5 separate regions of the Homo sapiens genome follow, and regions 2, 3, 4 and 5 are each linked to region 1. The links are contacts of gene promoters, found by promoter capture Hi-C in blood cells and fetal thymus (Javierre and others, 2016). All regions are on one chromosome and are shown on one strand. The core of a region is centred on a gene start or on the middle of the fragment in contact, and the rest is flanking DNA. Distances in the headings are between cores, read along the strand shown.

Region 1 (2,707 bases), core at 107-2,606:
TTAGGCTTATGGATAGATAAAAAGGTGCAATATTAGTTTTCTTCTCTCGGAAAAAAACCAGTATTTTCCAGAGGATTTCATGGTTCTAGAAGTACTACTTCTAAAGCCTGCTTCTCTCTGCAGAGCTGCGAATGTCTTTTCAGATAAGAAATTCTGCATTCCATTTATCTTCAGGATGTATCCTTTGATAAGATTTCAACAGATTAATGAGCAACTGAACTGCCATATTTTGAAGTGGGAGAACAGTTTGCCTGAGTCAGGTATCCATCCCTTTAGGTTCTCGATTGGCCCTTGGCCCACGGTGAGTGAGCTCTCTTTGCTTGGTGCATCATCGCTCCACCTAGTTCAAGTTCTGGCGGCTTCCTGATTTTGATTCTCTTGGGAAATGAGGCCTGCTTTAGCCTGAGGCTGGCTCAGGAAGGCAACCTTTCACCTACTTAAGGAAAAGTTCACAGGCAAACTAAACAATATGTTGGGTTAAAAAAAGAGACCAATCCTACTAGTACTGGGTGAGTGAAAATCTTCTCTCTTACAGTACATGTAGTTCTACTACCTGCACTGGATGCTTTCTTTCTTATCCTTGTTTAGTGTCTAAAACGAGAAACAATGGCAAACTCCTTAAAATACAGAACCACTGTGGATTCCTAAGAACGTTCAAAAACAATAATTTGGAGTAAACTTTATTTTTTGAAAAGAAATAGCAAATTTGCATGGTGAGTGCATTTAGAGGAAAACGGGTTATATGCTAGGTCAAGTGAGGCCAAAACAAGAGAAATGATAATGGATAAGCTTTGAGTTTTTGAGGCTCTTCTTGCCCCAGGCAGTTCCAAAAGCCATTTTATTTGGCAGGATTTGACAGCAATTTCTGCAAGAACGGGATAACTAATCCAGTTAAAAACGAAAAAGAATATGCATACTATTTCATAATTTATATTGAAATTTATACATTACAGCAATAATTGTGCGACTGTAATTTTTTTTTTTTTTTTTTTGGTGGAGGGGTGTTTTTTCCTGGAGGGACGGAGCTCCTGCAGACCCTATTGGGCTAGCCGCTCCTCCCACGTCGCTGCCGCAGATCCCCGCTCCCCTCCCCCACCCGCGGTCCGTCCCTCCTGGTCGACCCCGTTCCCGCCCCCGCCCCGCGCAGACTGCAGCCAGGTCCGGTCCGCGGCGGCTCCGCGGAATGACCCGTAGTAACCTCGCCCCGCCCCGGGCCGCCAGCGCCGCGCTCCCCGGCCCGAATTCGATAGGCCCAGCCCCGCACGCGCCACCGCTCGCGGGCCAATGGGTGGCAGCCTCTCTGCATAGGCAACGAGTGCCGGCCGGGGGTGAGCGTCCCAGGCGGTTCCGCTCAACAGACGCTGCTGTGGCTGCGCCGGGCTGCGACACTGCAGTTGTCTACGCGGCCGGGGCCGGGACGAGGAGGCGTTGGACGGGGTCGCATACGTTCGTCCCCTCGCATTGCGGCCCCGACAGCTGCGCCAGGATCCCCGGGCGGCGGCGCGGGGCGTGAACGCTCTGGGGCTCAGCCAGGCCTGCGCGGGCCCGAGGCCGGAGGAACCCGGACTCCGGCGTAGCGGTGAGTGCGGCGCCGGTTGTGGGAGCGGCGGGAGCCGGTTGGCGGCGCGGCCTCCGCGTGCGGTTCGGCTGGGCCCGAGGGGCTCCCCAGCCTCGGGGCCTGGGACCCTGTCGTCGGCGCCGCACCTGACCGCTGGGTGTGCGCGCGGGCGGCCCGCGGCACCAGGAGCAGCGGCGAGCAGGGTGGGAGGCGGCCCGCTGGGGTCCGGGAAGCGGCTGACGTGGGGCCTCGGCCCTGAGCCCACGCGAGCCGGGAGCTGCAGCGCGAACGGCGTGGGGCGGCGCTGACCAGGCAGGGAGGATGCACTGCGTGCCTCCCGGCGCTGTGGGGCGGGGTGGGGAGGCCACCCCCTTGAATTAAGAGGGCTCTGCCGCGGCCCCAGCAGTGCGGTGTCCGTGGAAGGAGACTCAGCCCTGCGATTTCGGAAAACCCTTGTTTGGCGGGGCGGGAGGGGCTGTTGCTGCGTGGGGTGAGAAGAAACTAGGTGCGTGAGGTGGGTCGACCTTGGTGATTGGTTCTGGGCACTATCGTGGTGGTGGGACTGGGATTAAGACTGTCGTTTGGGGTTTGAGAGTTGCAGCTTTGCTTTTCCCCAAGTGCGTTTTAATCATATACTGTTGATAGGTTGGGTAACTCGGGGACTGCTTACTACCAGCAGTCCTGTGGGGTAGGTGTTATCAGGCTCGTTTCACAGATGAGGAGCCCGAGGCACAGGTTTTCAAATGGTTTTCGCAGGAAGTCTGATACTAGAAAGTGTGCTCTAAGCTGCTGTATAAAAGATCCCTCGAAAATGAAAAGGCTGGAGGAATGTCTTTAAAATTATATGGAAGCTAGAAAGGCAGTAGGCTTTGTGAACGAAATTATAGCTGAAAAGAATGACAAATAGCTGACATTTATTGAGCTTTTATTACATGCCACGCACTGTTTGGAGAGCTTTATGTACAGTGTCTTCACACTGTTAACAGTCCTCTGGGGTGGGGGTTATTCCCATTTTACAGCGGGAGAAACTGCAGATTGGACGACTTAGCTTGCCTCAGATCTCAGCTAGTAAGAAGCTGGGATTCAGACAGGCCTGTGTAAATCCAGAGCTCTGAAATCTAAGCACTATATTTTGCTGCCTCTCCTTGG
Region 2 (2,707 bases), core at 128-2,627, 4.6 Mb after region 1:
TGGCCAATCTATCTGTCCATTTCTTTTAATATTAAAAACATTAATTATTATTAGTAGTATTATATTAATATGAAGTCTCACTTTGTTGATTCACCCAATCCCTTTCATGAGAGATGTGGAGGTTGGTCTTGGCTGTTAGGAAACGTAGATTCTAATCCATTCAACAGCCCAGTGATTTGAGAACTTCAGCTCTCTGGGTCTCCCTGTACTCCTTTGGAAAACGAGAGACGAAGTTGATTGTTGCAGTGGGGATTTGGGTCCTGCAGTCTGGCTGTCTGGGTTGGAATTGAGCTTCGCCATAGGTACCCTTGGGTAAATTTACTTAATCCCTCAGGGTTTCATCTTCCTGTTTTGTAAAATGTAAATAACAATAACGCTCACCTCGAAGGGTTGTTGTGAAGATTACATGAACGATTTCATGTATTCATTCCGTCAACATTGAACACCTAGTCTCCAGCTCTGCGAGGGGAATGGGGTGGAGTGGCACAGAAAATACGGGGGCCAGGCTGTTTAGCGCCTAAAGGGAGAGTCCAGATCACCCATGGTAAACACGAAATAAGATGCAGTATTTCAAATAGCTAGAACTGAGACGAAAATACAACGCAGCAATTTGATGGAGAGCAACTTCGAGAAAGGTGAGCTGCAACATTAACTCGGCTGATCTGGGACAGTCTGGCGGGGGAGGTGACATCTGAGCCCCACCTGACTTAGAGGATGTCAGCTATGGATGATCCGGGTTTCCACACGCAGCAGTTCTCAAGCCAGGTGACTGCACCGCCCTAAAGTTCCCTCCACTTTTGGCAATGTCTGGGGATTTTTGGTTGCCAGCAATGGGAATTGGGGGGTTTGTTCTTGTATCTAGTGGGTATAGGCTAGGAACGCCGCCCAGTATCCTACAGTGCACAGGACACCCCAAGCCCCCCCAAATTAGCTGGCCCAAAGATAAAGAGAGAAGAGCAAGGGCAAAGGTCCTGCAGGAGTCAGAAAGGAGCTTGCTGTGTTCAGAAAACTCAAAATCCAGTGTGGCTGAGTGAGGACGACGAAGAATGAGGTAGACTGGGCTAGACTATGGAGCACTTTTTACGGCACGGTGAGGAATTTGGAATTATACTCAAAGCAGTGGAAAGCCCTTGAAGAGTTTTAAACAGAAGGGGAAGGTAACCCATGTGAAACGCTTTGCATATATAAGCGCTCAATAAATACTGTCTATTATTAATATTATTATCACCATTGTGTCTACCCTACTTGGCTCCAGACCCGGCCCATGCCTCAGCGAGGCCGCAGTGACTCCTCCTGGCCAGCAGAGGGCGCCAGCGGACACTTGGCTACCGGCCGCCCAGGGCGGGCCTCCTCTTGCCGTCCCCTTCCTCGTCTTTTCCCCTCAGGAGAAGTCGGGAAGGTGGCGGCGGCGGCGGCGGTTGTCCCGGCTGTGCCGGTTGGTGTGGCCCGTCAGCCCGCGTACCACAGCGCCCGGGCCGCGTCGAGCCCAGTACAGCCAAGCCGCTGCGGCCGGGTCCGGCGCGGGCGGCGCGCGCAGACGGAGGGCGGCGGCCGCGGCCAGGGCGGCCCGTGGGACCGCGGGCCCCCGGCGCAGCGCTGCCCGGCTCCCGGCCCTGCCGGCCTCCTCCCTTGGCGCCGCGGCCATGGCGGCCAGCGCGAAGCGGAAGCAGGAGGAGAAGCACCTGAAGATGCTGCGGGACATGACCGGCCTCCCGCACAACCGAAAGTGCTTCGACTGCGACCAGCGCGGCCCCACCTACGTTAACATGACGGTCGGCTCCTTCGTGTGTACCTCCTGCTCCGGCAGCCTGTGAGTGCGGGGCGGCCGGGCGGGTGTCGGGCCCTTCCCGGGAGGTGGGGGAGCGGGCGGCGGGACCGGGACCCTTCCGGGGCTGGGAAAGAGCCGGGTGCCGTGGGAGGCGGTCGGGGGCGGCCGTTGGGCGCCGGCTGGCGGGCGCGGCGTGGGAGGCTGCGGGCTGGATGCGCAGGGCCCGGGCAGCCGGGCTGGGGATGCGTTTTCGGTTTTGCCGGGCGAGGGTTTACGTTCTGGGCAGCCTTCGTGGGTGGGACGTGGGCGGGGTTGGGGTCAGGGAGGGGGCGACCGGGGCGAGCGTCCCTGGTCTCCGTCGAGCCTGCGGCCGCCGCCCTCGCTCTCCAGCTACCCGGGGCGCCGGGCTGTGGGGGGTGGGGGAAGACGCTAGGAGGCCGGGGGGGAGGTCCATGCGGGTCCTTTGTGTGCCCCGCCTCTCAGCGGCCCGGGAGCCGCGGTGCGGAGCGAGGCACCTGCTGGGCGCTCCTGCTGGGGGTCGGGGAGAAGCTGGGGTGGGAGGGAGGGACGCCTGCCTCGCCCGTGCCTTTTTTCTGGGTCGAGAGTACCTACGTAACTGGGAGGAAGCAGGCACTTAGGAATAGTAGCAGGATGAAAGCATCTTGATGGCAGATGTGAATCCCCTGGGAAAAGTTCGAAAGGATTAATTGCGGGAGGGGGAGGCAGAGGAGCAGATTTGAAGCTGTGGGATTTTAGTTTTATGGTCCGAAGAGAGTGTTGAGGAGTTGGGGGAAAGTTTTAATGGCAATAAGGTACCCACTAGGAGCTGTGTGATTCTAAATATGATGGAGTTATCTGTGAGATTTATCTGTATCTCGCTATCAATACCCGAGTGCCCTGGCTGTACACAGAAATGAGGAGAGCTAGCAAGTCACCATG
Region 3 (2,707 bases), core at 84-2,583, 4.5 Mb after region 1:
CTTGACCTCGTGATCCGCCCGCCTCGGCCTCCCAAAGTGCTGGGATTACAGGCGTGAGCCACCGCGCCCGGCCTGGAAGCATATTTTGAAAGAAACTAATGCTTATTGGGTGGTATAATTCAAAAGCAGAAGAAGGTAAATACATTTTAACAAAAATCACTGTCTTTTTAAAAAACCTCCCGCTTTTCTCTTCTTTGTCTCTTTTCTTGAAAACTCCTAGGAAATAATGAAGATGTTTCATTTTCAAGACCAGCAGATCTTGACCTTATTCAGTCAACTCCCTTTAAACCCCTGGCACTGAAAACACCACCTCGTGTACTTACGCTGAGTGAAAGACCACTAGATTTTCTGGATTTAGAAAGACCTCCTACAACCCCTCAAAATGAAGAAGTAAGTAGAACTTTAGTATCACCGGAATTTGAAATAATGTAGACAAAGGTAAAAGAGAAGAGCAAAGAGGCTTTATCATATCTTTAGCAATATGTCATGAAAGCTTTCCATATGGAACATTACTAATAATTCTAATTTACAAATGTGCCAAATAAGTTATTATGCTATTTTTAAAATTTGAATATTATGTTTTAGGAAAAATGTAAGTTTTGTGGTAAGTATTATTAAGTTCCTGTGGTTTGAAGAAAGAGCCTTTATGGGTAGGTGTTACTTGTTAAATAATAAGAAAATGTTGGGAAGTTTAGCAATAAGAAGTAAATGTATCACTTTGTTATAAAATCAGTCTAGCAAACAGGGCAAAGAAAACCCTTTTTCGCTTGACACTACCCATTCTCGCTACTTGATTAAAAGTTTCTACTGAGCTACTCTACTGCATCACGTTAATGTGCCAGTTGACCTAAATGTAGCAGTGTAGACTAACAAGGTGTTAGTAACAGAGTTCGAATCCTGCCTTTGTCATTGACTTACAGCTAACCTTTGAAGCTGCTTTGCCGTGATGATTGCTGGGGTTACATCTTTTTCATATAGCTTTTGAACTTCTAACATGTTGTCATGAAGCTAGTATGAGACAATGTGCAAACATATGTTTTTATTAATAATGGTACTGCTTGTGTCTGGTTTCATTTTGCATGTAATACTTTCCAAAGAGGGTAAAGCACCCATACTGTCTAGGGCAATGCAATTTTCTAGGATTAGGTTCTTAGATTGTAAGTTTCTGCTGACATAATTGAGGTAATATGCTCACAGTTAGTTTGGATATTCTAGGTATTTGGTGAAAAGCACTAAATCTGAGCCTTTACATGACAGAAAGGCACTAACATACTTGCAGAATTGTATTATTTAACAAACATTTTTTAACTTTTATCTCTGAGATACTATATGCAGTATAGGAATTAATGAGACATAGTTCCTGCATTCAAAAAGTTTGCTGTCTGTCTGGTTTCAGCAGGACAATGATATGAGTGAGGGAAAGACATCAACGCATGCAGAAGATACAAAATTCTTTAATAGCAGAAAATAATGAAAGTTACCAAGATGGTTACATAAAACAAAAGTATCCAGTGTGCTCCCAGTTTAAGGCCCAGCTTTCTAACTCCCCAAAGTTCCTTGGGAATTATACCTGTGAAAATAATTGTCTTACAGTGACGATTTTGCCAGGAAAGAAATGCTCCTTATTGTATTCTTCGGGTTTTTCTGTTGGTCTTTCTGCTTCTCCTAATTGAAAGCAACCCAAGCAATTCCCTGATTGATTATTTTAAGAGTGAGTGAAGAAAGTTTGCCGGGATTTCCCTCAGTAGACCCAGGCTTTAAGACTCTACGGGGTTCATTCCTGCATTAATTGTGATATTTAGTCAAATGTGATAGATGTTCAGAGTGTATAACACTGGGGTAAAAAAGTTTGTGTGAGAATTAGAACTAATTTTGAAGACCTACTTTGCCATTTACTAACCACATAACTTTGGGCAAGTTATTTAACAGTTCTAGGGCGTATCTCTGAAATAAAGATAAGAATAATGCCAAGTGCATGAGATTGTTATGAGAATTAAATGTAATCATGCATGTTCTAATTCGTGTTAAAAGCTCAATATATATAAATGTTATTGTTAGGAGAGACTTAAAATCCTGTGGCAGGAGCCAGATCCTGAAATGAAAGACGAGTTTCTGAGATTAATACCAGCTGCTTATTGAAAGCAAAGATGATGGTTTGGACTTCAAGTTTATACAAGCTTATAGAAGGGTCCAGTAGCCTTCAAGAAGCACTCAACTGCAGTGAGCAAGGGAGGAAGGGGTAAGGGAGCCAGGGTTCTAGTAGCTTCTAGAAATTGACTGAAATAGAGAAGCAGTAAGGGCCTGAGTACTGATAACATTGATGATTCATTCAGGTGTTAACTCAGAATCGATAAAGTGAGATCCCCAGAACATTTGCTCTGTATCATTCTGCAGTGGATGCTAGAATGAGGTAGAGCAATAGTGCTCTACCTCAGCACTGTTGGCATTTTGGACTGGAAAATTCCTTGTTGTGGTGAGAGCCACCTTTTTGCACTGTAGAATGTTTGCAACATTTGTGATCTCTATCTACAAGATGCCATTACCGTCTTCCAAGTCATGATATCCAAAAATGTCTGTAATAGCAAAAAGGTGGAAGCAAGTAAAATATCCATCAGCTGATGAATGGATAAGCAAAACATCATCTAGCCATATAGTAACTCTTATTCAGCCATAAAAAAATGAGGTACTGGCTGGGTGCGGTGGCTCA
Region 4 (2,707 bases), core at 109-2,608, 4.0 Mb after region 1:
AATTTCTTTCTTAAAGTCTGTTTCATCTGATATTAGTATAGCCACTACAAATCTCTTATGGTTAGTGTCTGCATAGTCTACTGTTAAGTATTGTTGGTATTATTATCACTATGGTACATGAACCAATTTCTCATTTTTACAGTTCTTAAATTGAGATTTGAATTATTTAATTTGCAAGCTTTTCCATAACTAGAAAGCTATAAATTATCTTATCAGTTTTACACATATTTTGGTACAGTTTTGGGTAAAACAGTAATCAATACTTGGTTCATTAAAAGCAATTAGAAACCCAAACAAGCTTCTCCCTTAAAAAGATAATCCAGTTGTGTATTTGTTGCACGCTGTCGTTGCATGGTATTGTTGCCTGACGTCCTCTCACTTTCAGGCTGGGTTCTGAAATCTGAGAATGACACTTGTCTACCTTCCTGCCAGTCCTGGATTTGTGAACTGTACAAGGGTTGTTACCACCACTCCTCCGCTTATGTGCAAGCACCACATCTTAAAAACACTCATTTAAGTCGGGTGGCTTAATCATAGGTATTGCTGCTTTTCCTGTAAACCTTAGATAAAAGTTAAAATTTATTTTATACCATTCAATGTCTCACATATTATGCACAATGTGCATAGTGCTGCCTCGTCTCATGATTAAGATATATACTTTCCAGCATTTAGAAATCATTGTTTTATATGGTAATGTAGTGATTACGTATATTTTAAGTTAAAGAATTTCTTCTGGCACTGATTCTTTGGTATTTTTAAGCCTTGCTCAGTGAAAGGATGCTGCTGCTGATTGCTTCATATGTTCATATTTAAGATATACAATTATTATCCAAGTGATATTTGTCAATTGAAATGGGATATGAGCATGTTACAACATGCTCATTTCAACAGAAACTTTTAAAAAACCCAGTCTGCTCAACAAATCACGTAGGACAAAAGAGAAGGTCATTTTTTAAAAGGTAGATATTTTTTTCTATCTGTTAAATGTCTTTTACCCCTTAAATGTCTATGAAAATTTTCACTGATATTTGAAACAGAACATAATTACCTAAGAATATTCTTAATCCGTATATATTTCTTACATTTTAACGAAATTATTGAATTGAGACTTCTTGATTTGTGGCTCCCTTAAAATCACCTCTGCATTTGATGTATTATACGGACAAGAAAATGATGCAATTATAGAAAGATGTAGAGAGTGATGGAGAATAGAAGATAAGATTAATATTAATTGAATGGATTCATATGATTGTGGTTCAGAAGGATAAATGAGGACTTCTTCCTTTTGAGAAATTACACATTTCCCCCTCTAGGGAAATACAGAAAATACCTCTATAGGCAATTTACTTTTCCCCGCATTCATTTGACTTTTCATGTCCAGAAATGCAGTTTCTCATTGTCAGTTGAGCTTTTGGAGGAGTATATTGTTTTTCTAGGAAAGAGGTAACTTATGAGTCTTAATGAACACGTACAATTTGCTAAGAATCTTCTTTGTCACTTGAAAGTCATATGTACACCCACACCTATGCATGAGCCACATTTTCACTTAAATTTCAAACTCCAAAATAAATATTTCTATGAAGAGTTTTAATACACAATGGCAAAAGATAAACTCTTCTGGTTTAGGCAGTTTTTGTTTTAGCAGACTATCTAAACACAGCTGCTACAACTTCCAATAAACAAAGAGTAACACTAAACCACCTGTATTCGGATACTCGGATTCCTTCTTGGAAAAAGAGCATCTTTACCCTAGCTATCAGAAAATTCCATACCAAATAGTAAGATTTTTTTTTTTTGAGATAGAGTCATGCTCTGTCGCCCAGGCTGGAGTGCATGGACGCGATCTCACTGCAACCTCTGCCTCCCGGGTTCAAGGATTCCCCTGCCTCAGCCTCCCGAGTAGCCGGGATTACAGGCGCCCGCAACCATGCCTGGCTAATTTTTGTATTTTTAGTAGAGACAGGGTTTCGCCATGTTGGCCAGGCTGGTTTTGAATTCCTGACCTCCGGTGATCCGCCCGCCTTAGCCTCCCAAAGTGCTGGGATTACAGGCGTGGGCCACCGCGCCAGGCCTGTTGTTGTTTTTTAAATAGAGACAAGGTCTCACTATGTTGTCCAGGCTGGTCTCAAACTCCTGAGCTCAAGCGATCCTCCTGCCTCGACCTCCCAAAGTGCGGGGATTACAGGCGTGAGTTACCGCGCCCGGCTGTAAGATAGTTTTTTCATATCCTATTAAATATATATAGCATTGCAACATTTAACTTAGCCTAACTCCTACAGCTAAACATAAAACTTGCTCCCGAGTAGCAAACAATTAAAATGGTATCAAATTATGTATTAATCGAAATTCTATTAACTGAAATATGAAACACCTAAAGCCCTCAAAATGGGCAAACGTTGCGTGGTGCAGTCCCAGACCCAAGCTTCTGGGAGTGAAAGGTGCACCCGCGACCTTGCCTTGCTGGCTGGCTCTGGGACTCTGCGATAAGCCGCCCTCCGGTTGTCTGCGATAGCTCCTGAAGCAGGAGAGTGTCTTTCCCACCCTCCGCCTAACAGGCGGTATCTGACCCTTCCAGGCAGCAGCTCCCCAGCCTCCGGCTGCGCTGGGGCCCGGAAGGACGAAGCTTCCCGGCAGAGAACCTGGGCAGAGGCGTCCGTTGGGTAGGCGGCCGCGACCCGCTCGCTGCTTCTCCCCTAGTCTTCGGGTC
Region 5 (2,707 bases), core at 85-2,584, 3.9 Mb after region 1:
CCACCAGGTGCTTGTTCTTGGAGTCAGCCCGCTTGTTGATGTTGAAGCAGCTCTCAAGGGGGATCGAGCGTTTGGGGGCGCTCGACTTGTGCCGCCACTTCTTCTCGTTCTCGTAGTACTCGAGGCGCGCCGGGCCCCCAGCCTCGCTGGCCGCGCGCAGTACGAAGAAGCGTTTGTGCATGCTCTTGGGTTTGCGCAGGTAGCCCACCTTGCGCACGTCCGAGAAGCCATCGCTCTCCGGAGGGCTCGCCATGCTGCCACCGCCACCACCAACGCTGAGCAGAGGGAGGCTCCGAAAAACAACCGGGTGGGGGGCGGAGGCTCCTCGCCGCGGCCCGGCACATGCAAACAGGGCTGGAGGCAGCAGAAACCCCGACTCTGAAATCCACGCCGCCCCCCGCGCCGGGGAGGGGCAGCTGAAGGAGGACGCAGCTGCTGAGCCCAGGAGAGAGCCCGACCGGAGTTTTCGGGCGCTTCACGCCCGGCGGGGAGGCAGTGCGTCCGGGGTGAGGGCAGCCCCGATCCTCCGAGAGCCAAGTCTCCTCTCAGCCGCCGCCGCCACCAGGAAGGAGCGAAGATGCATCTCTCGTCGCCCCGGCTGGAGTCCGGCACAGGGAGGCGACAGTCGGGGGTCCCTGCGGTGCCCCTCCAGGAGCGCGCGCGCGCGCGCGCCTTCCCTCCTGAGTTCCCCTCTGGAAGCAGCGATTCCCGAGGCAAATTAAATATCCTTGGGCAGGGGGAGGCGGGTTGCCAAGTCCCAACGTTGCACGGGGTTCTCCCTCCTCCTTCGCCTCCTCCCACCCCCCAACCGTCCCAGCCGCCACCAGCCGCCCAAATACCAGCTCAGTCGCAGAGACCGCGGCGCTGCGGCTGTTGCTGTTGCTGCTGCTGCTGCTGCTGCTGCTGCCGCCGCCCGCGGGCGCGTCCTCTGCAGCCCCCATCCGGGCCCATCTCGGCGGGTGGAGAAAGTGGCTTTTCCATGCGAAACGATACCGGGCAGCCACTGCAGCTGGGGACCGGCCGGAGGGACAGACTCATCCCTGCCCCTCGCTCCAGGCGGCTGGGGAGGAGGGGAGGGGACAAGGGCGAGAGGGGATGGGGGAGGTTTGGGAAGGGTTCGGGGAAGACGCCTGTTCCTCGGGAGGCGCTGCCGCTGCAGTTACTTCTCCCCTCCTCCCTCCTCCTCCTCCTCCTCGGAGAGTTGCCGAGAGCCCCAACCAAAACAAGCGGCGGCGTCTGGCTCTGCGCGCCGGCCCCCTCCGACCGCGCCGCCGTCTCACTCGGAGGAGAAAAACACGTGACGGAGCCTCCGCGCTCGGCAGCCGGGCAGCCGCCGCCGGGAGGCTCCCGCCCGGGTCTCTACATTCCGGGCCGAGCCCGCCCCGCGCCCGCCCCTCTCCGCCCCCCAGCCGTGCTGCAGCGGCGCCCGCGCCGACCCCGGCGCAGCGCTAGGACAGCGCCCCTGCGCGGCCGCCAGCTCCGGCGCAGCGCCTCCCTACACGCGCGCCAACCGGGGCGCCCCCGGCCCGCAGGAATCCCCGCGGCGGGCGCAGGCGGGGGTGTTTGGGTGGCTACCCGAAAGCACGAGGGGAGTCTGGGAAAACGGGAGGGGGCGAGCTCGGGAAGACGCAGGAGTGAGGGTGGGGGGCCACGGGGGGGCACTGCGGCTACAGAGCCCCGAGTGGGAGGCCGGGGGGAGGCGGGGGCGCCGGAGCTGGGCTGCCTCTTACCTATCAGGTAAGACTGACCCACGGGAGGGAGGTTTCTAGTCAAGGCTGTTTCCCCCAGGAAATTTAAAAGCTAGATTTCGGCTTCAGGGCGATAGGCCATGGTGAGGGGATCTGTATTTTTTAAGGTTTTTCTAAAGGACTTCTGGGCCAGCCTTCCACCTTGGGATCCCCAGATTTGCTGCCGTGAGGTACCTGGAAGGAACAGAGGGACGCCCAAGGGCAGTGACTGGGGGCAGTTATGGTCACTACAAAAGGAGAACAGGGATCCCCAGGAAGTGTCTCACGTCCGGCGCTGTGGAATTAGTTGCTGATCAAGTAGGGAGAAAATGTAAATATCACCTTTTCTCCTGCTCCCCTTGCCCATCCGTGTGACGGGGGGACTCACACCTAAGGCTGAGGGCATGGGGGAGGGGAAATGAGAGGTCCCTTATCATATTCCGAAGTCTATCCGTGACTTTAAAAAGCTGTTAGGGACCTTCAGAGGGTTCATAAGGCCAAAACCCTACTGTGCAAATATTGGCTGAAATGTTTGTTTCACACACAGCTCCCACACCCATTGAACCACCCTATAAGTTTTTAACCTTGACCACAAGGATAACAGGGAGAAAACAAGGATGGTGCCAGCTCAACTGTACAGGAAAATGGTTACTTCATGAGTGGACCAGATCAGCAGCCTGGGTCTACTTGAAGCGCCCCTTTCAGGGTCACCTTGCGGTATCAGTCTCCCCACAAACAAACGCTCCCCAGAGTTTTTTTATTTTTTAAGCCGACCTATAAACAAGCAGTTTGTCCCTGCTTGCTCGCCTGGCACTAAGGACCCACAGAGATGTCACTCGGTTTAATGCTGTCTCATTTTGATGCCTGGCCCGTTTGGGGTTGCCGCCCCTTTACTACGCCGGGACCCTCCTCGGCCTCAGGCTCCCAGGCACTGCAGGATGCTGGCTGGGCACTCAGCAGTCGAGGCGCTGGGCATGCTC

Evidence for each region. Contacts are between HindIII fragments. The CHiCAGO score rates a contact against its expected background, and 5 or more counts as called.
Region 2: the fragment with the promoter of AGFG1 here is called in contact with the fragment with the promoter of ACSL3 in region 1 in 3 of 17 cell types (naive CD8 T cells, total CD8 T cells and non-activated CD4 T cells); the score reaches 7.9 in naive CD8 T cells.
Region 3: a contact is called between a fragment that was not itself captured here and the fragment with the promoter of ACSL3 in region 1, in 1 of 17 cell types (naive CD8 T cells). The highest score is 6.2, in naive CD8 T cells.
Region 4: a contact is called between a fragment that was not itself captured here and the fragment with the promoter of ACSL3 in region 1, in 2 of 17 cell types (total CD4 T cells and fetal thymus). The highest score is 8.6, in total CD4 T cells.
Region 5: the fragment with the promoter of IRS1 here is called in contact with the fragment with the promoter of ACSL3 in region 1 in 1 of 17 cell types (naive CD8 T cells); the score reaches 6.0 in naive CD8 T cells.

What each region holds. Positions count from the first base shown.
Region 1 is chr2:222,859,680-222,862,386 of GRCh38, forward strand. It overlaps ACSL3 (acyl-CoA synthetase long chain family member 3), which reads left to right and starts at 1,357. Exons shown (of 17, transcript NM_004457.5): 1 at 1,357-1,579. RefSeq lists an enhancer at 1,072-1,366 and silencers at 1,083-1,412, 1,483-1,852. The HindIII fragment of the contact is 2,380 bases long and covers 788-2,707 here.
Region 2 is chr2:227,470,779-227,473,485 of GRCh38, forward strand. It overlaps AGFG1 (ArfGAP with FG repeats 1), which reads left to right and starts at 1,378. Exons shown (of 13, transcript NM_004504.5): 1 at 1,378-1,810. The coding sequence starts at 1,644. MIR5703 (microRNA 5703) reads left to right here and starts at 1,354; the gene lies at 1,354-1,409. It overlaps LOC124907994 (a long non-coding RNA gene), which reads right to left and starts at 1,321. Exons shown (of 2, transcript XR_007088114.1): 1 at 382-1,321; 2 at 10-211. RefSeq lists an enhancer at 291-1,254 and a silencer at 1,367-2,086. The HindIII fragment of the contact is 6,204 bases long and covers 1-2,707 here.
Region 3 is chr2:227,332,199-227,334,905 of GRCh38, forward strand. It overlaps MFF (mitochondrial fission factor), which reads left to right. Exons shown (of 9, transcript NM_001277062.2): 4 at 221-390. Among named protein-coding and RNA genes, the nearest start is that of MFF, 8.3 kb to the left of the region's middle. The HindIII fragment of the contact is 1,684 bases long and covers 492-2,175 here.
Region 4 is chr2:226,833,004-226,835,710 of GRCh38, forward strand. It overlaps a transcript of RHBDD1 not described here. Among named protein-coding and RNA genes, the nearest start is that of RHBDD1, 1.7 kb to the right of the region's middle. RefSeq lists enhancers at 2,370-2,664, 2,504-2,573. The HindIII fragment of the contact is 2,124 bases long and covers 297-2,420 here.
Region 5 is chr2:226,798,486-226,801,192 of GRCh38, forward strand. IRS1 (insulin receptor substrate 1) reads right to left here and starts at 1,335. Exons shown (of 2, transcript NM_005544.3): 1 at 1-1,335. The coding sequence starts at 253. It also overlaps a transcript of RHBDD1 not described here. RefSeq lists silencers at 154-203, 1,194-1,613, 1,634-1,703, 2,664-2,707. The HindIII fragment of the contact is 8,747 bases long and covers 1-2,707 here.